6 separate regions of the Homo sapiens genome follow, and regions 1, 2, 3, 4 and 6 are each linked to region 5. Evidence: promoter capture Hi-C in 16 types of primary human blood cells and fetal thymus (Javierre and others, 2016). All regions are on one chromosome and are shown on one strand. The core of a region is centred on a gene start or on the middle of the fragment in contact, and the rest is flanking DNA. Distances in the headings are between cores, read along the strand shown. Region 1 overlaps RABL3 (RAB, member of RAS oncogene family like 3). Region 2 overlaps GTF2E1 (general transcription factor IIE subunit 1). Region 3 has its middle 8.3 kb from the start of NDUFB4. Region 4 overlaps RABL3 (RAB, member of RAS oncogene family like 3). Region 5 holds the start of POGLUT1 (protein O-glucosyltransferase 1). Region 6 has its middle 40 kb from the start of NDUFB4.

The links. The method cuts DNA at HindIII sites, captures the fragments that hold promoters and counts their contacts. A CHiCAGO score of 5 or more calls a contact.
Region 1: a fragment that was not itself captured here is called in contact with the fragment with the promoter of POGLUT1 in region 5 in 2 of 17 cell types (total CD4 T cells and non-activated CD4 T cells); the score reaches 5.1 in total CD4 T cells.
Region 2: a fragment that was not itself captured here is called in contact with the fragment with the promoter of POGLUT1 in region 5 in 1 of 17 cell types (neutrophils); the score reaches 7.2 in neutrophils.
Region 3: a fragment that was not itself captured here is called in contact with the fragment with the promoter of POGLUT1 in region 5 in 1 of 17 cell types (neutrophils); the score reaches 11.3 in neutrophils.
Region 4: a fragment that was not itself captured here is called in contact with the fragment with the promoter of POGLUT1 in region 5 in 6 of 17 cell types (fetal thymus, total B cells, activated CD4 T cells and 3 more); the score reaches 8.9 in fetal thymus.
Region 6: a contact is called between a fragment that was not itself captured here and the fragment with the promoter of POGLUT1 in region 5, in 1 of 17 cell types (monocytes). The highest score is 5.0, in monocytes.

What each region holds. Positions count from the first base shown.
Region 1 is chr3:120,710,048-120,713,320 of GRCh38, forward strand. All of the region lies in intron 2 of RABL3 (RAB, member of RAS oncogene family like 3), which reads right to left. Among named protein-coding and RNA genes, the nearest start is that of HGD, 29 kb to the left of the region's middle. The HindIII fragment of the contact is 3,405 bases long and covers 1-3,273 here.
Region 2 is chr3:120,753,767-120,756,871 of GRCh38, forward strand. All of the region lies in intron 2 of GTF2E1 (general transcription factor IIE subunit 1), which reads left to right. Among named protein-coding and RNA genes, the nearest start is that of GTF2E1, 13 kb to the left of the region's middle. The HindIII fragment of the contact is 3,094 bases long and covers 299-3,105 here.
Region 3 is chr3:120,603,027-120,606,266 of GRCh38, forward strand. No RefSeq gene overlaps it. Among named protein-coding and RNA genes, the nearest start is that of NDUFB4, 8.3 kb to the left of the region's middle. The HindIII fragment of the contact is 1,783 bases long and covers 624-2,406 here.
Region 4 is chr3:120,737,717-120,741,059 of GRCh38, forward strand. The region is part of intron 1 of RABL3 (RAB, member of RAS oncogene family like 3); the gene reads right to left. Among named protein-coding and RNA genes, the nearest start is that of RABL3, 3.1 kb to the right of the region's middle. The HindIII fragment of the contact is 2,693 bases long and covers 476-3,168 here.
Region 5 is chr3:119,467,096-119,470,413 of GRCh38, forward strand. POGLUT1 (protein O-glucosyltransferase 1) reads left to right here and starts at 1,868. Exons shown (of 11, transcript NM_152305.3): 1 at 1,868-2,011; 2 at 2,725-2,815. The coding sequence starts at 1,927. RefSeq lists enhancers at 1,532-2,032, 1,725-1,894 and a silencer at 1,945-2,144. The HindIII fragment of the contact is 3,798 bases long and covers 1-2,492 here.
Region 6 is chr3:120,555,345-120,558,312 of GRCh38, forward strand. No RefSeq gene overlaps it. Among named protein-coding and RNA genes, the nearest start is that of NDUFB4, 40 kb to the right of the region's middle. The HindIII fragment of the contact is 764 bases long and covers 1,062-1,825 here.

The DNA.
Region 1 (3,273 bases), core at 439-2,938, 1.2 Mb after region 5:
AATACTTTAATAATTTTTACTCCAGAGGACCTTATAGTTAATTAATCTTAACATCTTTCACAGCTCTCTGTTCCACTTCCGAAGCCTCACCTCCCTCCTAACTAAGCATAAATTTCATGATCCATCATACAGTCACTCCTTTGCCCCTCTCTCACATTGTATTCATCTGACAAAATTCCACTCTTGGTTATATCCACCTTTTACCCTCTTTCATGTCTACAACCCAGCAACCGAATGTGGAGCTCGGAAAAATACGCATTCAAGATGAATGGATTCTTTCTAAATTTAAGTGTACCTTTGGAGCTGTCCTTCAATCAATTCCACAGTTAATTTACCATTTTCCTCTTCCAGATAACTATTTCATACTTTTTCCTCTTTATAAACTTCTAATATCTCTTCCCCATCCTCAGTTAAAACTAACTTTGCTTCCTAGTGCAGAAGCAATTAGAAAGGAGCTTCTACAACCTGTTCTTCCTGTATTTATCTGCCTTTCTCCATCTGTGCCCACATAATCTGCTTTCCTTCTTGCTGTTTTCTTAGGCTGCCTATGTCCCTAAGGCTAAATCCTCCTTCTGTGCATGAGATCCCATCCCCACTTTCTTGCTTAAAGATGTAATTCTACCAGTTCTCCCGTCTCTCCCTTATACCATCAAATTTTCCTTCTCAGCTGGATAATCCTCACCACACAATTCAATTCTCAGCATACAAACATGGCATAATTTTCCTCATCTAAAAAAAATCCTTCTCTTGACCTCAAGTCCTCTTCCAGCTACCATGCCACTTTCCTTTTCCTTTTCACAGCAAAAGTCCTCCAAAGAGTTGTCTATTCTTAGCGGTAATCCTTTTCTTCACATTCTCTTTTGAACTCATTTCTATCGAACTTATGCCCTAATGACCCCAATGAACTATTCCTTGTCAAGGTCACCAATGACCTCCACATTGTTAACTCCAATGGTCAATTAACAGTTTTCATTTTACTCCACCATTTGATCCACCTCGTGTCTTGCAACATTTTTCACCTGGCTTCTGGGATATCACACTCTTCTAGTTTTCTTCCTATCTCATTGGCTAGTGCTTTTCAGCTTCCATTTGGGTCCTTCTTATCTCTCTGATTTCTAATTGCTAATGTGTCTCAAGGTTTAGTTCTTCAGTCTCTTTTCTTTTCTATCAATACTCATTCTTGTGGCAATTTCATCTAAAAGGCAATTTTATTCTTCCAGTTACTTGGGCCAAAAACTTAAGACTGATCCTTGACTCCTTTCATATTGCATTATTGCATTTGCCAACAAGTTCTGCTTCTTTGACTTTAAAAAAATATGTCAAAAATCTGTTCATTTCTCCCTATCTCCACTATTACCACCCAGGTCAAAGTCTCTATCTCCTTGCCTGAATTGATATAATGGTCTCTGACTGATCTCCCTACTAGAGGCATCCCCCAACCTCCCTGTTTGTTTTCTATACAGTAGCTAGAGTGATCCTTTAAAAATGCAAGTTATATCATACGCTCTTTTGCTCAAAACCCTCCAATGACTTTCTCACTCACAGTTATCTCCAAAGACTCTCTTTTTCTCATGTCTAGGCTCTATAGGCATTTACTGCCTGTACTGTATAACTATTCAGAAACAAATTATGATATATGGCAAGCAGATTAAAGTATGCTGGTTCATGAGTACACATCGGCATTTTCCAAGAATTAATTTTTTTTAAGAAATATACATGCCAATCTTACTGAATCAGGACCTTTGGGATTAAATACTAGGCATGTGTATTTTGAACAATTCTCCAAACGATTCTGCTGTAATCCCCTCGTTAAGAACTGCTGCTTTCATAGAATGGGACTATTACAGTATCAGGAGGCCTAGATTCTACTCCTTGATTGCCACTGATCGTCCCTGGTATCTTGGAGCCTCAGTTTCTTTGCCTATAAAATGAAAGAATTGTATTATGTGATTTCTAAAGTATCTACTGGCTTTGACATAATAATTAAAAAAACAAGATAGCTCAGTAGTTAAAATAGATGTCATAAAATGCACTAAAACTCACATACTACATTCAACTTAATGCTTTACACTTTTACTTATTCACAATTTTTTTGTCCAAATCCTTTTGGCCAAGGAAAAATTTAAATAAATATGCTACTCTATAAACAGCCACATTGACATTAAGAAGACAATTATCAGACTGACATCAAAGACAGTATGACAGAAAAATGAGAATAGCACAGTTGCAGCAGTTGAGGACCATTTGGGATAATGGAAATTAATTCTGCATATTACAATAGAAGGCATCACTATTTTGTTATATGGCAAAAATAACTTATAATATGTGATCATGTCAAGTTAGCAGTAAAAAAGTTAAACCAAGCAGAAAAAACATATGTTTTAGCAAGATTTCTAAGCAAAACAATGAGAAAAAGCAGTATGAGGTCTTATAAAGAGTAAGTTATCTGTTATGAAAAAGCTCAGCGACTTCAGTTAAGTCTTTCTGATCCTACCTTCCTTCTGGGCCCAAATCAACCAGAGCAGGTTTGGTACTCCTCCTATTTGCTTCCATAGCATCCTACACACCTCTATCATTTCACTAAGCACACTGTCTTATTTATCTACTGATATCTCTTCTTCTAGACTCTGAGTGTAAGGGCACGGACCATGTATTATTCATCCTTTAGCCCTAGAAAATAGCATAATATCTAGCATATATTAGATGCTTAGACATGTTTATTAAATACATGAATAAATTTAGGATAACTCATCCTCCAGGTTTTTATTATGTTCAGTTTATTATTTACCGAATTCCAGTGTTTCTCCAGTACAGTTCCAAGAGCAAACTAAATCAAAGCCAATAGGAAGTTTGTTAAAAAATACAGATTCCTGGACTGTCCTTGAAACTTCTGGGATGGGGCTCAAGAGTCTGTATTTTTTTTTTTTAAAGTTCCCTAGGTGATTCTGATACATGATTAAGTTTGGCAACCACTGCAGTACACCATTTTTTTTCTCTAAATTATTTCAAGTACCTAATGTTGCCTCCTCTAAAGGACTATAACTCCTCTGAGAATAGCCATCATCCAATGTAAATTTCTAGGCAGCATACCCTCTTAGCCTTGCATTGTACCAAACCTGTTAGCCAGCACCTTTCAGGCTATGCATACTCCCAAGCCAGACTGACTCACTCATCTAAACTCTTCTCTACCACAAATTACCTTTCCTAGTCAAATCCTTTCCTGTTTCCTTTTAAAATCAGAAGATAAGGTGTCTTCTTTCCTTTCCAACTTAA
Region 2 (3,105 bases), core at 596-3,095, 1.3 Mb after region 5:
TCCATCTCTACTTTTCCTAAAGATTGTAAATTTTCTCCATACTTTCCATTTAGATTTGCTTTTGATGTTTCTGGGTTGAACTCTCTTCAAATGTATAGATACATTATTTGTTAAAATGGAATAGCCTAGCCTTTGCACACTAGTCAATCAGAAGCTTAATCATTAAGGTGAAACCAGGTTTTAAGTTTCTAAAATATGGGAGGATTATGTAATCAAAACAAAAACATGACATGAAATCTCTCAGTGAATCAGCAAAATAACATCTTGTGTTTCATAAATGCATGTTTTAGATTTAGCAAGCTTTCTGACCATTTAAATAGACTTAAGTATTTCTATTTTAGCAGTCTCAACCATGGGTGATTTAGTTAATCACCCTAAGTTAACACTTCTAAGTTAAGTTCAACAGCATGCTTCTCCTGAAGGGCAGAGGGGGATCTTAGCTCTTTTTAGATGTTAAGGTTAGATGATTTGGAAATAGCTTTATATTTTCCATTTTTAGTTTAAAAATTATGCAACCATAATGCCAGAGACAAATTTGAAGAGAAAAAAATCACCCACAAAGCCACCAGCCTTTTACGTATTACCTACAATTACAATCATAGCTTAGAATAGTTTATGATCTCTTGGTTTCTTAATGTACCAAACTCTCCTGTTTCTATCTAGTGTTCAAAATACATTTTAATAGGTGTAATTTTTTCCCATTTTCCTTTCCCCTCCTTTTGGGCACTTTGGGGGTATCTATTTTTTGCTGGTATAGATAAGATGCTTTGAATACCTTTGTATATATAGCACATTATTCCTGTTCACATTTTTTCTTATGAATTCTTGGCAGTGGGAATATTGGGCAAAAAAATACAGTTTTAGAGCTTCTCTAAAAACATATATGGCATTGTAGTTTTACTGTGAGTGGGTGGAGTAGAATTGTTAGATGTTTGAATTGGAAATAATTCGGGAGCCCCTTTTACTGCATTCACCTAGGGACCTAGGAGTCACATTTTAAATTTTGAGATGAGATAATTTAATTTTTTTTTAAAAAAGAATCTTATAAATGTATATTTAATAAAATCTTAGAAATAGAAATTCAGAGATTATCTAGTTCAACTCAACAAATAATGTGTATGTGGGTGCACATGGACATGCCTATGTTGTACTCTTGGATTTGGAGGATCGCATAATGTAATAACGAATAAATCTAGGGGTATATACATTGCTAGGCTGTTTTAGATTTACTATTAAGGGAGAATATGACACTTCTCATGGAGATTTACCTTGTTTTGTTTGGCTCCATGGAAAGACTTAGCAACAGATTTTAGTATTAGCATAAAGAAGTCTTTGATAATTAAGTAAGTGTCTAATAAATAACTCGTAAAAATAGCCAACAATGGAATAGATCTCTTCTAGTGATGAGTTCTGAGTTTGGAATAGTCAAGTAAACTTGGTATCTACTTGAGATATTCATATGTAAGTTTGGAGTTAAATCATATGAGTCCCTTCTTGGCTTGTGACTACAGATAAAACTTTTTGGTTTGGACAGATCCATTTCCTGATGGCCCCATTCATTGAGATTCCTTTTCTGTTCCCTTACCCTAACATTTAAAAATTTTTAAGATTCTCTATTTGTGAGACTTGATTAAAGAGTTTGCCTTCATAGGGCAGGCTGCTTTTTCCTGTCTTCTCTTTCTACTTAGAATAGGAGATATCTTTAAAAATTTTTTTAATTAAAAGAAATTTTTTGTGGCTAAATAGGTGTATATGTTTATGGGGTACATGAGATGTTTTGATACAGGCATGCAATGTGTAATAATCACGTCATGGAGAATGGGGTATCCATCCCCTCATGCATTTATCCTTTGTGTTACAAACAATCCAATTATACTATTTTAGTTATTTTTAAATGTATAATTATTGACTATAGTTACCCTGTTGTGCTATCAAATAGTAGGTCTTATTCATTCTTTCTAACTATTTTTTTTACCAGTTAGCCATCCCCCATCCCTACTACCATTTCTACCCTCTGCTAACCATCCTTTCATTCTCTGTGTCCCCGAATTCAATCATTTTGAGTTTTAGATCCCACAGATTAGTGAGAAGGTACAATGTTTATCCTTCTGTGCCTGGCTTATTTCACTTAACATAATGATTTCCAGTTCCGTCTATGTTGCAAATGACTGAATCTCATTCTTTTTTATGGCTGAATAGTACTCCATTGTGTATGTGCACCACAGTTTCTTTATCTAGTCATCTGTTGATGAACACTTAGGTTGCTTCCAAATCTTAGCTATTGTGAACAGTGCTGCCACAAACATGGGAATGCAGATACATCTGATATACTGATTTCCTTTCTTTTGGGTATATACTCAGCAGTGAGATTGCTGGATCATATGGTAGCTTTATTTTTAGTTTTTTGAGGAACCTCCAAACTGTTCTCCATGGTGATTGTACTAATTTACATTCCCACCAACAGTGTACGACAGTTCCCTTTCCTCCACGTTCTTGCCAGCATTTGTTATTGCCAGGACAGGAGGTATCTTATAAGCAGTGTTTTCAATTCCTGAAGTGCTAAAAACACAAACACAAAAAGAAATCTTTCCAAGATTGTTTTGCTCAGTTGCTGAGTCCTCAGTCTTTGGAATCTTATCCAGCATGGGTTAGACAATTATGCCACAGAACTCAAAGGTATGGATTGGGGAGTGGGGGGAGTAAGGGGGGGAAATTTATTAGAAAAAGTTAAAATATATATAAAAATGAGTTATGGAAAGATAGGAACAAGTATCGTCCCTCTTCTACCCTTCCACCACAAAACCTTTAGGTCTGATTTTTTAAAATTCTGCTGCTTTTGATTTTGAGGATTTGAGAACTTTTTTAAAAAAACATTTTGGCTGGGCACAGTGGCTCATGCCTGTAATCCCAGCACCTTGAGAGGCCAAGGTGGGTGGATCGTTTGAGGTCAGTAGTTCAAGACCAGCCTGGCCAACATAGCAAAACCCCATCTCTACTAAAAATACAAAAATTAGCTGGGCGTGGTGGAGTGCGCCTGTAATCTCAGCTACTCGGGAGGCTGAGGCAGGAGAATCCTTTGAACCCAGGAGCCAGAGGTTGCAGTGA
Region 3 (3,240 bases), core at 265-2,764, 1.1 Mb after region 5:
AAACAGTTGGAATACTGGGCCTCCATATGCTCATCTATAGCATGGAGATAGCCTACTACCTCACAAGGTCATGAAGATGACAATGAAATAACAGTATTATGCTTTGTAGTTAAGTCTGGAAACAGTAGGGTGATAATTTCACCACAAAGGCAGAGTAAAGTCAAGTGCTGTAGATAACCAGCATGCTCTGTAAGGCTGGTGTAGATGGTATATTGGTCTTAACTTTCAAAGGATATCCACGACTACTTTGATTTGAAGCTTGCATAAGCATGGGTTGCCCCAGAAAGCAGAGACTGAGGGAAAGTCTTCTGTGCAGGTAGTTTATATTAGGAAGTGATCTGAAGGAATAGAAGTTTGGGAAGAGTGAAACATGGAAGGAGGGAAAGCCAGCAAACATGTGCCATGAACCTGTTGCCTCTGAGAGTAACAGGCTCCCACCTGGGACCTTCTGAGAAGCCCTGTGGAATGTAGAATTTTTCAACCAGATGTGGGAAAAGCAAATGTTTGTCTTGTCTCCATTGGTCAAGGGTTATCCCATGCAATTCTCGTGTACATCAGGGTATGGACATACTCTGGAAAGGCTGACGATGTTTTTACAGGCATTACACATGCGGGAGAAAGGAAGCTTAGGGCAGAAAGCAAGTGATGTGCAGCTGAGGTAAAGTATTGTCAGGTCACACTTGCAGGCAGCTGACAGTGGCAGCAATAGTTAGAGTAAAAAGGTGGACCAAGAGGTTGTGAGGCAGGCAAAAGAGATATAGGATTTCTTCCTCCACTTCATGCGCTGCTTGGATCTATTTGGACATACACTGAGTCCAGTCTATAACATGTCCTTCAAGGTGATGGCTGTATACAATCTACAGAACACTCAGTATGGACAATTAGTGGAACCAGCTACAGTACATACTGTTGCAACTGGCCCAGAGTCTGTAACTCATTCATCTCCCCTCATCGTATTTACTAGATTTCCCTTCCTTGGCCATCATTTTAGCAGGTCTAGATTGCTAGCCAGATGAAGTCACCAAAGCCTTCATTTCTAAGGACCAGAATCTTAGTTACTCTATCATCATCAGCCCTTTGTTGTAGCAATTGCATGTTTACAGCTGGGCTGGAAGTGGAAGCACCGAGATGCTCCAGTGAATCCCCTGGACTCCAGACATTACCCTTTTTGCCCCATTGTGTAGCAGCAACCCTAGCTCCGTGGGTCACTTACTGCTGCCAGTATGGAAATTTCTTTTTCGGTCTACTGTTTCCCAAATACAAGAAGTACCAGATTATTTTGTTTCCCTGGTGAAAGTGTTCTTATGCCCCAGCATGGGAATCAGGACTTCTTCCAGCAGAACCTAAATTTGGAGGGAGGGGAAGTGCACATTCCACCATGAGTTACTGGGATGGCAAAAGGGGCCAATCCTACTTCTTGGTTCTCAGAGTCATAAATTCTAGCTGCTGGGGCATAGCACTGTATCTATGACCATTGGTTCATTGCATATACCACATGGTCAACCCTGAGCCTCAGTCCTGCTAGATGTCCTTAAGCTGGTACTTTAGCTAAGCCTTTAGTAGGCTTAGCTAAATTCATCTGTGCCCTAGAGCTGCTGTGTACATCCAATCACATGACAGTGCTTCTGACTGTCCAGATCTTGATAGGCAGTTCTGGTTGAATGGTCACCTCATCTCATACTGGGTGCCCAGCTGCTTTTGGAATGGTGAATTTTTCTTTGCTGCAGAAGGCATGGCCTTGCTCCACAACCTAAGAAGTCAGCACTGCAACTATTCTGTTGCCAAGGTCTTGTAGGAGACTCCAAGCAGCATCCTTAGCTACCTACCACAGACACCTAGAGTATTGGCTTTATTGTGTTATATGACCCAAGTGGCTGCTGCTTACACTGCAGCCTGGATCTGCTGCAGAGTCCTTTCTGGGCTCCATTCAAAACTGGCAGCTTATAGCCAGGCATGCCTGGTATGTGCCTAACTAATTGGAAGGCTGAGATGGGAGGATTTCTTGAGCCCAAGAGTTCAAAGTTGCAGGGAGCTATGATCATGCCACCCACTGCACTTCAGCCTGGGTGACAAACTGTGACCCTCTCTCTGGAAGAACAAAACTGGCAGCTTTACAAATCACTGCATAAATGGGTCAGAGTACTGTTCCCAAGTAGGGTATGTGTTGTCTCCAGAATCCAGAGGCCCACAAAGTGCTGTGCCTTTTTCTTTGTAGTAGAGGGTGTGAAGTGGTTCAACTTGTGCTTTACTTTGGAGGGGCTATCCTGGCATGCCAAAGACCACTGGATACCCACAAACATCACTGATATGGGAAGCTCCTAAACCTTTATAGAGATTATCTCCCACTTTCTGGATCTTATACTAGTGCATTAAGGTAATGAGGAATCTAATCTATGAGTAAACAGAAGCTTTAAGGCAGAAATACTAGAAGGTGTGAGAAACAGCAATTCAAAGGGGCCAAGGTGGTAGACACGTGGGAGTAGCTGTGTGTAATGGTGGAGTAAAGATCCATGAATTCCTGCAAAATGGATCTTAAAACTATTTTGGATCTACAGCTACCATCCTGTGCCCATGAGACTTGACCAAATCATATGATTTCCATGTGGTTCCTGTTTGCTAATTTGCCCCTGCCCATATCATTACAATAACGGTAAGACCCTGCTTCTTCCACCCATCCTAATGGCCATTATTGTTATATTGTTCTCCAGATCTTAAAGAATTGTATTACTTGATTCTCATTTTGCTAGAGGGCAAAAACAGAAGGAATCCTACTGTGACCTTCCGTCTTTTTTTCTAGATGACTTTAGTTTACCCCGTAGTCCCCACTTATTCAGTTATCTGAAGTCAACCACAGTTCTAAAATAGGTGAGACAGTACAATAAGATGTTCTGAGAGAGAGAGACCACATTCCCATAACATAACAGTGTTTACTATTATTATTGCAGTATATAATGATAGTTCTATGTTACTATTAGTTATTGTTTTATTCTCTTTTGGAGGCTGATTTCTAAATTAAATTTTATTATCGGTATGTATTTATAGGAAAAAACAGTATATATAGGGTTTGGTACTATCTGTATGGTTTCAGGCATCCACTGGGGGTCTTGGAATGTCTTTTCTGTTGATAAAAGGGAACACGCTATTCTAATAAGAATACAAGTATACAAGTCTATTATAAGAAAATTACAAATTTCCAAAAAAGAAAATTACAAATTAGTTAAGTACAAGAATAAGATAAAA
Region 4 (3,343 bases), core at 572-3,071, 1.3 Mb after region 5:
CTGTTTGTCAGTTTTCCTTCTAACAGTCAGGACCCTCAGCTGCAGGTCTGTTGGATTTTGATGGAGGTCCGCTCCAGACCCTGTTTGCCTGGGCATCAGCAGCAGAGGTGGCAGAACAGCGAATATTGCTGAACAGCAAATGTTGCTGCCTGATCATTCATTCCTCTGGAAGCTTTTTCTCAGCGGGGTACTGGGCCATGTGAGGTGTCAGTCTGCCCCTACTGGAGGGTGCCTCCCAGTTAGGCTACTCGGGGGTCAGGGACCCACTTGAGGGGGCAATCTGTCTGTTCTCAAACTCTGTGCTGGGAGAACCACTACTCACTTCAAAGCTGTCCGACAGGGACATTTAAGTCTGCAGAGGTTTCAGGCTATGCCCTGCCCTCCGAGGTGGAGTCTACAGAGGCACACAGGCCTCCTTGAGCTGCGGTGGGCTCCACCCAGTTCGAGCTTCCTGGCCTCTTTGTTTACTTACTCAAGCTTCATCAATGGCGGGCGCCCCTCCCCCAGCCTCACTGCCACCTTGCAGATCTCAGACTGCTGTGCTAGCAATGAGCAAGGCTCCGTGGGTGTGGCACCCTCTGAGCCAGGTCAGAGATATAATCTCCTGGTGTGCTGTTTGCTAAGACCATTGGAAAAGCACAGTATTAGGGTGGGAGGGACCCAATTTTCCAGGTGCTGTCTGTCACCGCTTCCCTTGGCTAGGAAAGGGAATTCCCTGACTCCTTGCGCTTCTTTGGCTCACACACAGTGGGCTGCACCCACTGTCCTGCCCCCACGGTCTGACAAGCCCCAGTGAAATGAACTTGGTACCTCGTTGGAAATGCAGAAATCACCTGTCTTCTGCGTCGCTCACGCTGGGAGCTGTAGACTGGAGCTGTTCCTAATTGGTCATCTTGGAACCACTCCCTTAATTTTAAGTTCCTTGAGGGTTCTTACGCAGCTTTTTTATCTCTAGTATTTAGATCAGAACCTTAATTAGTATTTATTAAAAGTTTCCATATTATTCCAAAATCTTCATAAACATTTAAAGTATCTCCATAGTACTTCAGAAAGTAGGCATAAAAATTTACTTAATCATTCTTCCATTATTATTAGATATTTAGGGTGTTTTGAAATTTTTGATATGCTAGTGAAAGGTTATTTCTGTTTAAACCTTTGTTTAAAATTAAAATTATGTCCTTAGTATACCTTCCCAGGAGTAAACTCAGTACTTAAAAGGAAACATTTAAAGTTCTTGATATGCATTGAGAAATAACTTTCATGGGGTTATACTGCCACCAGCCATACACTTGAGCCTGCAGGTCTTGTTGCACCTCAACAGTATCATGTAGTTGGCTTTTCATCCTTGTTAACCTGATAAAGGAATAAAAGTGACATCTTGGCCAGGTGCGTTGGCTCACACCTGTAATCCCAGCACTTTGGGAGGCTGAGGCAGGCAGATCACGAGGTCAGGAGTTCGAGACCAGCCTGGCCAAAATGGTGAAACCCTGTCTCTACTAAAAATACAAAAATTAGCTGGGCGTGGTGGTGGGTGCCTGTAATCCCAGCTACTTGGGAGGCTGAGGCAAGAGAATCACTTGAACCCAGGAGGCAGAGGCTGCAGTGAGCCGAGATTGCGCCACTGCACTCCAGCCTGGGTGACAGAGCAACAATCCGTCTCGGTGGTGGCGGGCAGTGGGGGAGTGACAGCTTGCTTTAGTCTGCATTTCTTTACTTTCTGATAAAGATCAAAGATTATCATTATGATTATTCTGGCAAATCAGTTGTTTTTCCTCTCATAAATTCTCTGTTGATCTACTCTGTACCTTTATCTACCAGGTTTTAGTGTCATTAATTTATATGAGCTCTTTATCTATTAAATATATTAATCATTTTACGTATGTGTAATTGAATCAAACATTTTCTCAGGCTTCCCTTTTATTACTTTTTTTATATAGAAACATTTAAGATTTTTAAATACTCAAAATTATATTTGTCATTGAATTTACTGCATTGTGTCTAATATCTGTAACTTTTAGGATGTATTGTTGATTCTGTATTTGTAAATAGGTTTGTTTATGTTCAAGGAATGTATCTATCCACTTAATTATCAGCTTGATGCAACACTTGAGGCCTAGTTTAGCTTAATTGTGTTAGGGTAAACATTTCCAGGCAGTAGAATTGTATAGCTCTCCATGAATTAACTGCTTTGGGTGATAAGTATTAGCTAAGAAGGGATGAAACCCTAAACAGTAAGAACAGTTGAAGTGCTAGGGAATAATGGCGAATTTCATTTCTTTAAGAATTTTGGGAGATTCTGATTCTATGTTTTCACCTTTAGAACTAAATTTGATCAAAAGAATGCACTTGATTTGCTTGGGGGTAAAAAAGGCCCAATATAAATAAATGTCAGCTCCAAATACAGCTGTTTGGTAATATGTTAAACTAGTCCCTAATCTCTGAAAGAAAGAGAAAACCGTATGGTAGTGAGACTTTCAGGGTTCCTTACCAAATTACCAAATATCTCAATAGGATAAAAACAAATCACCAAATATCAACTTATTCTTTTTATTTTTTTTTCTTGGAGACAGGGTCTCACTCTATCACCCAGGCTAGAGTGCAGTGGCACGATCCTAGCTCACTGCAGCCTCAAATTCCTGGGCTCAAGTGATCTTCTCACCTCAGCCTCCTGAGTAGCGGGACTACAGGCGTGCACCACCATGCCCGGCTAACTTTCTGTACTGTTTTTGGTAGAGAGAGGGTCTTGCCATGTTGCCCAGGCTAGTCTTGAACTGAGCTCAAGCAATCCACCCGCCTCAACCTCCCAAAGTGCTGGGATTATAGGCTAGAGCCACCTTGTCTGGCTAAGTCATTTCTTTATATATTTGTGAAACCCTCAAAATTTTATAAGGGAAATGGCCTTTATTTAAAAATAAACTTTCGGGTTTGAAAGAAAGGCTGAGGAAGTGTAAAAAGTGCATTCTAAACTGTCAGACTGTGTACTTTTAAATCGCAGTTAAAAGGAGACTGACAAAATTACCTTTTAAAAAGATAAAAAGACAATAACTAACTTTGCACATAAAGGTTAACATTAGTGAATGTGTGACAACATCAATCACTTTCCTGGCCATCACAGCTGTGTCTTCTGCTTTACAACTAAACCATAACAGGGGAGGCGGGCAGTAGGGAAGCTTATCAATTGCCTGATTACTTTTCCACATTTAATGTAGCTGCTAATTCTATCCCTGTTATATGACGCATTAATTCCACAGTTATAACCCCAGAACCTAATACAGTGCCTGTTGGAAAGAAAATAAATTGACTAGTTGCAACAGTTTGTAATATGAAGGGATTGTTAGATACA
Region 5 (3,318 bases), core at 618-3,117:
TCCTACCCCTTTCTCCAGATTTCCACTTCATATTGATCTTTTCCTCCACTGAAACCAGTGGCACTTAACTATTGCCTTAAATTGTAAACTATCTCTAAGGAAGCATATTTGTCTTCCCTACTAGTTCTAAACTCCTGGGAGCACAGATTTGATCTTGTACTTCCCTGTATTTCCATATTTCCACAAGGCTTAGGGATATAACCATGTACATTTTAGAAAATAGATAAATATTGCTGGGCGCAGTGGCTCACGCCTGCAATCCCAGCACTTTGGGAGGTCGAGGCTGGTGGATCACCGGAGGTCGGGAGTTCGAGACCAGCCTGACAAATATGGAGAAACCCCATCTCTACTAAAAATACAAAATTAGCCGGGTGTGGTGGCGCAAGCCTGTAATCCACCTACTCAGGAGGCTGAGGCAGGAGAATTGCTTGAACCCAGGAGGCGGAGGTTGTGGTGAGCCGATATTGAACCATTGCACTCCAGCCTGGGCAACAAGAGCGAAACTCCATCTCAAAAAAAAAAAAAAAAAAGAAAATAGATAAATATTTGTAGTTCTATGATTACTAAATATATCTACACTGACCTATATATACCTGTATAAAGATATATACCTGTACTATACTATATACCTATATTGTCCAGTATCATGTTGCCCACTGTCAAGAAACAAAATTTCATCAAATTTAGTTTAAAGTTCTTGGCCAGGCATGGTGGCTCACGCCTGTAATCCCAGCACTTTGGGAGGCCGAGGTGGGCAGATCACCTGAGGTCAGGAGTTTGAGACCAACCTGGCCAACACGGTGAAACCCTGTCTTTACTAAAAATACAAAAATTACCCGGGCATGGTGACACACTCCTGTAATCCCAGCTACTCGGGAGACTGAGACAGAAGAATTGCTTGAACCCGGGAGGCAGACGTCATAGTGAGCCAAGATTGTGCCACTGCACTCCAGGCTGGGCAACAGAGTTAGACTGTCCTCTGTCTCAAAAAAAAAAAAAAATCGAATTGGCTTTTATTAGTGATTCATGAATCAGGCAGCATCTCATCTATAAAACAGAAAAGTGTTCTAATGAGCTGAGCAGAAGGGGTTGGGCTTATAGGCAGAAAAGGGCTGAAGAAAGCAGAAATAAGGAACAAAAAGCAGATTGGTCATTTTGAAGTTACTTTCCTCAAAGAGTTACATCAGAGGGGACTTCTTTATCATGCCAGCTCAGGTATATGGGCCCCTTCTCCTATTTGTTGGAAAACTGACCCCTTTTAAAGCTGAGTTTAATTACGCAGCACCTAGGACAAGTTGCCTCCATTCTGGTTTTGTCTGCTCTCTTGAGGCCTAGTGCCAGAGTTCTGTCCAAAACAACGACCTCCCATAAACTTTATTTAACACCATTGATCTTTTTTCCTACGTCTAAGTCACCCCAACTGTTATAAATTCCTATTACAAAGGGATCCCTGCTATGCTAATTGCAACCTTTGGGGTCTAACCGTGCTGTACACACACACACACACACACACACACACACACACACATGCTCAACAAATTTATGCTATTTGATAAGAGGCAATTTGACGTCAAGAGAAGAACTGTTTGGCCTAGGCTCTATGCCAAGTCTTGGTTGTGCCACTAACCGTGAAACATACCCTCTCTGACCTTCAGTTTTCTGGCTGCAGACCTATTTTCCCAGGGGTGCCAGGGAGGGAGGATAGGCAACTGGTCCATTCGTTTATCCTCCCCACCTTCCCGGCGCAGCCTTCTCAGGGAAACTCCGCCTCAAGGCTGGGGACTGGAGGAAGGGTGGTGGGGCCACGGTGGCCATCTTTGTGCGGGGCGACCCGCCGCCCACGTGCTGCGGCTCCCGGGCCATCTTTGTGCGGGGCCGCGCTTCCGCCAGCGCCGCAGCGGGGAATCTGCAGTAGGTCTGCCGGCGATGGAGTGGTGGGCTAGCTCGCCGCTTCGGCTCTGGCTGCTGTTGTTCCTCCTGCCCTCAGCGCAGGGCCGCCAGAAGGAGTCAGGTGGGCTCCGGGCAGTGCCGAGCCTGCCCCTTGGGCTCGGGGTCTGGCCGGAGTCCCGAGGCGCTCCCCCGCGCGGCCGGCTCCCGGGAAGATGCCGTGGCCGCTGTAGCTCGGAGCTGGGCAGAAGGCACCGGGGCGCCTTGCGGCGGAGAGTGAGGTGCCGGGGTCTCTGCTCCTGCTCTGGACCCTGGAGAGTAACCCATTCCCCGGAATTCAGAATGACAGGGAGGAGAGGGAATTCCCCGTTCACCCGCAGGAGGCGTGGCCCGTGCTTGGCTACTCTGGACCTGCCTGAAACACTGAGGGGTCGGGGATGGGGGCAAATGTCGTGCGCGCGAGCGTGTGTGTATATGCGTTGCCAGAAGAGAAGAGGGGTTTAATGTCTGTAGCTTTTAACTGATCCTCTTTGTGGAGTTCAATTTGATTAGTAGAAAGTGAGAGTCCGCGTCACTATCCATAGCATTCTGAGGGTTGAGCATTAAGCTTGGGAATTTTCCAGTTTCTTGGACACCTGACAGCCGGATAGAGGAACAGACTTGACGTGAGCGTGGGAGTTGCACACACAAAAATTCCTCCCTAGCGTTTCGTTTCCATCAGTGGGATGGGAAGGGGATTTCTGAAAGTTTTGGTCTTCTGTTTCTTCTGTTGGTGTGGTGTCAGCAAATAACATTCAGGAAAATTTTTTTAACTCTCATTTACTTCACTTTTTAAAGGTTCAAAATGGAAAGTATTTATTGACCAAATTAACAGGTCTTTGGAGAATTACGAACCATGTTCAAGTCAAAACTGCAGCTGCTACCATGGGTGAGTTCTTTTCTTTGATGTGTCTTTGAGAGTTTAGTTGCTGTCACAGGAAGTATTCTAACATCCTTGAGAGATTTTGGTTGCAGTGGTCAGAAAGGCAAGGATGTTTTTCTATTTCTGGGGAATAAAAATGCTCTCGCATGGGAAAGGCTCAGGTGGTGTCAACCTAACCACTGACTCACTGCGGGATTCAGTGCATGTGCATCTGTTTTTCCCACTGGGCTGCAAGCTTCCTGAGGTCAGGGTCTGTGTCTTATTTGCTGTTGTCTCCCTGGTGCTAGCTGTCAGTGCGTGCTCGATAAATATTGTTGAGGAAATAAACCCATCTATCGCTGAATCTAGTCCTAAATTTCCTGATGGTTATCTTTAGAAAATGCACATCAGGCTGGGCATGGTGGTTCATGCCTGTAATCCCAGCACTTTGAGAGGCCAAGGCAGGTGGATCACCTGAGGTCAGAATTTCGAGACCAGCCTGGCCAACATGGTGAAACCCTGTCTCTACT
Region 6 (2,968 bases), core at 194-2,693, 1.1 Mb after region 5:
CATAGTGGAGTCATTAGTATCTACTATGCAGGAGACAGAGACCTCCTTTGCCTGGAATTAATATTCTTTCGGTTGGGGAGATGCAATCAGAACTCTGGCCAGTGGAGCTCAATTGAGTCAGTCCCTAGGGTGTGAGATGATCTCATTTTATGGGGAGTGACCCTGCTTACAACAACTTGGAATTCTTTACCTTCTCCACCACATCTGGGAAAGTAAGGACTTGGGATATAGGATAATGAAGAGAGGGCAGGGTAATAATGGGGCAAAGGACTTAAACTGGAGCCATATCTGATTATTTGGTCAATTGTCCTTGCCTCTAGATTATCACTGAGTGTTCCCTTTCTGTAGTCCCTGACTGAAGTCACAGTCATTAATGATGGTAGAAATCCAGGGAGATGAAGCAAGATTACACTGAGGCTTGGTGCCAAGTGTCTACAAGTGTCAGAGACCCCACCCAGGCCTTGGACTTGGCCTTATGGGTACATTCTCCAGGACCGCCCCCACCTCACCCTGCCAGAAAGTGCTCCTCCCCTGGAACCCGCCCCCACCCAGATGACCTTCGCAGCCTTCCTCAGGTGCTCCTGGCTGCTCTCTGCTCCTGCACCACCTCTCTCTGTCAACTTAAACCCATAGTAGCCCCTCCCACTAACTCTCCTCTACTCCCCCAGCTAAGACAGCAGGTCTGCCTTTTTAAACTCAGATCAGGCTACTGGGTGTGAGGTCCATGAGGCCATGGCCTTGTGTCTTTTGGTGCTTGTGAGCTTATCTTGGGCCTGGAAAATCATGCTGAGGAGGAAGATATTCCTGCTGCTGCCACCATGGAAAACAGTGCTGTGTTCCAGGAGCTGGGGAATAGTGTGGCAAGCAGATGACCCTTGTACAGCAGAACATTGATGACCTTCTGGAAGAGACCCAGAGATAAGGAGGGAACAGCTTGTGCGGAAAAGGGAGTCCTAGAAGCCAGTCCAAATATTGCAGATGGAATTCTTGTGAGTGAGGGCTTTCTACAAAACCGTTTGCCAAGACAGCTCACATGTTTGCAAGGCAAACATCTAGGCACAAGCTTACAAAATGAAACAGGCAGCTCAATGGCAGGCCCTGGCATGTTGTCGGTGGGAGGCGGACAAGTGAGGACCATGGGCCTTTCACCTGTCCATTTCTCTCTAGCTGCTATGGGGGGCCTCTAATGCTGTATGAGTTCTTTGACTTTCCAATCTATTTAATAGAAGAGAACCTGGGAAGTTAGCTCATCCAAGTCATGCCTCTGTCTCTACACTGGATGTTACCTGCAGCATGTGATAACAAGACAGTTCTGTTCTTTCAATAAATGCCTCTAGAGGAAAGTGCCCACCTATTCTCTGTGACCCATTCTAGGGTTTAATCGCTGTGAAATCTTGAACAATAGGCCTCACATTGACCTTAAGATGCCCCCTCGGTAGTTTACTTTTATTCCATTTCCTATTGATTACAGGTGGGGAATAGCCACTGACCAAGGTTTTCACTTGAAAGGATGCTTTTAAATACTTGACCATAACAGGCCCCCTTAACCTACACTTATTTAGACCTAATAACTTTAGAAACATTTTATACACTTATTTACTTGATAATCTTTTCCAACTATTCTATAATCTCTGCTAGTGACCACAGCTGCTCTCCCCCCGACAGAGCTCCCCTCTCCTTTCTAGGCACCCCATCTCTTCCCTACCTAAGAAATTTTTCCATCTTCAATGCACCAACATTTGAGCAGCTGTATAAGCACAAAATACTTAATTTGGGAACAGTGTCTGTGGGAAGGAATGCTTTGTTAGTTTCCAAAGTAATGCAAAGCTTAATTTTAGAAAGTAATTTAACTTTTTTTTTTTTTTTTTTTTTGGTTCTGGAAGTCACAGAGATTATGGATTGCACTGCAGAGGCAGCCTGCCTCCTGATGATGCTAGCACTTTGTAGCACTGGGTTTTTCTGCAGCAGTTTCATTTTTGTTCTCATTCAGAGACACAGTGGGTCAGTTCAATAAAAACATTTACTCCCTGAGGTCAGGGCCTATGTCTTGTACAGCCTGTCTGTATGGCCAGGGCCTGACAAGGACAAGTAAGTGGGAAGTATTCTTAAATGTTGAATAGCATTGCATTGCCTATCTGCCTCCCACTCCCTACCTTGGTCTTAAACTTGGTCCAATCAGGTTCTGGAACTAGGAAAGAACAGCTATCAAGTATTGGGCAGGACAGGGACAGGCGGGATCGGATCATACCACTGCTACATTCCATGGCTCCAGGAGAAAGTTATGGTGACAAGATTGAAGAGTATCATGTCCTACCAGATCTGATATCAGTCTCTTCCTCTCAGGGACACACAGGACTAGGAGCTGAAACATAATAGGAATTGGGATAGGAATCTGAACCAATAGAGCCAGATAGATTTGGAGACAGGGACCATGAAATGCAGAAATTAGGGGGGTACATCACCACCACCATAGTAGCAATATTTAGGGCTGGAACTGAGATAGGCTCTTGATAAGTAGCACTGCCCCAGAGCCCTCTGTGGGCTCCAGGTGAAGCACCTTCTATCATTTGCTGGGGTGCCTTTTGACTGTCATGGCATGCTCTAGTGCCTTAACACCACGATTGGTGACATTCCCAATTCCCCAGAAATAAAATTTAAACTCTATTTTCCAAGGGTACACACACACACACACACACACACACACACACACAGTCTCTCTCACTCTCTCTTCCAACTGTGTTATAAGCAAAAGTCAGTTTGAGAGGAAGACAGTGATGAAGTCCCCAAGAGAAAATCACTGTGAGTAAAGATACTGTGGCAGAGTGGACCAGACTCAACCAGAGCACCTGAATCTTGGAGGACAAGAGGTTCCAGGCAGAGCGTGAGGCTGTCTCTGTAGTTCTCACCTGAAGTCCCTCAACCCCAAATCCTAAGAGTTCCAGTATGTTCTGGAAACGAGGGGGGTGGT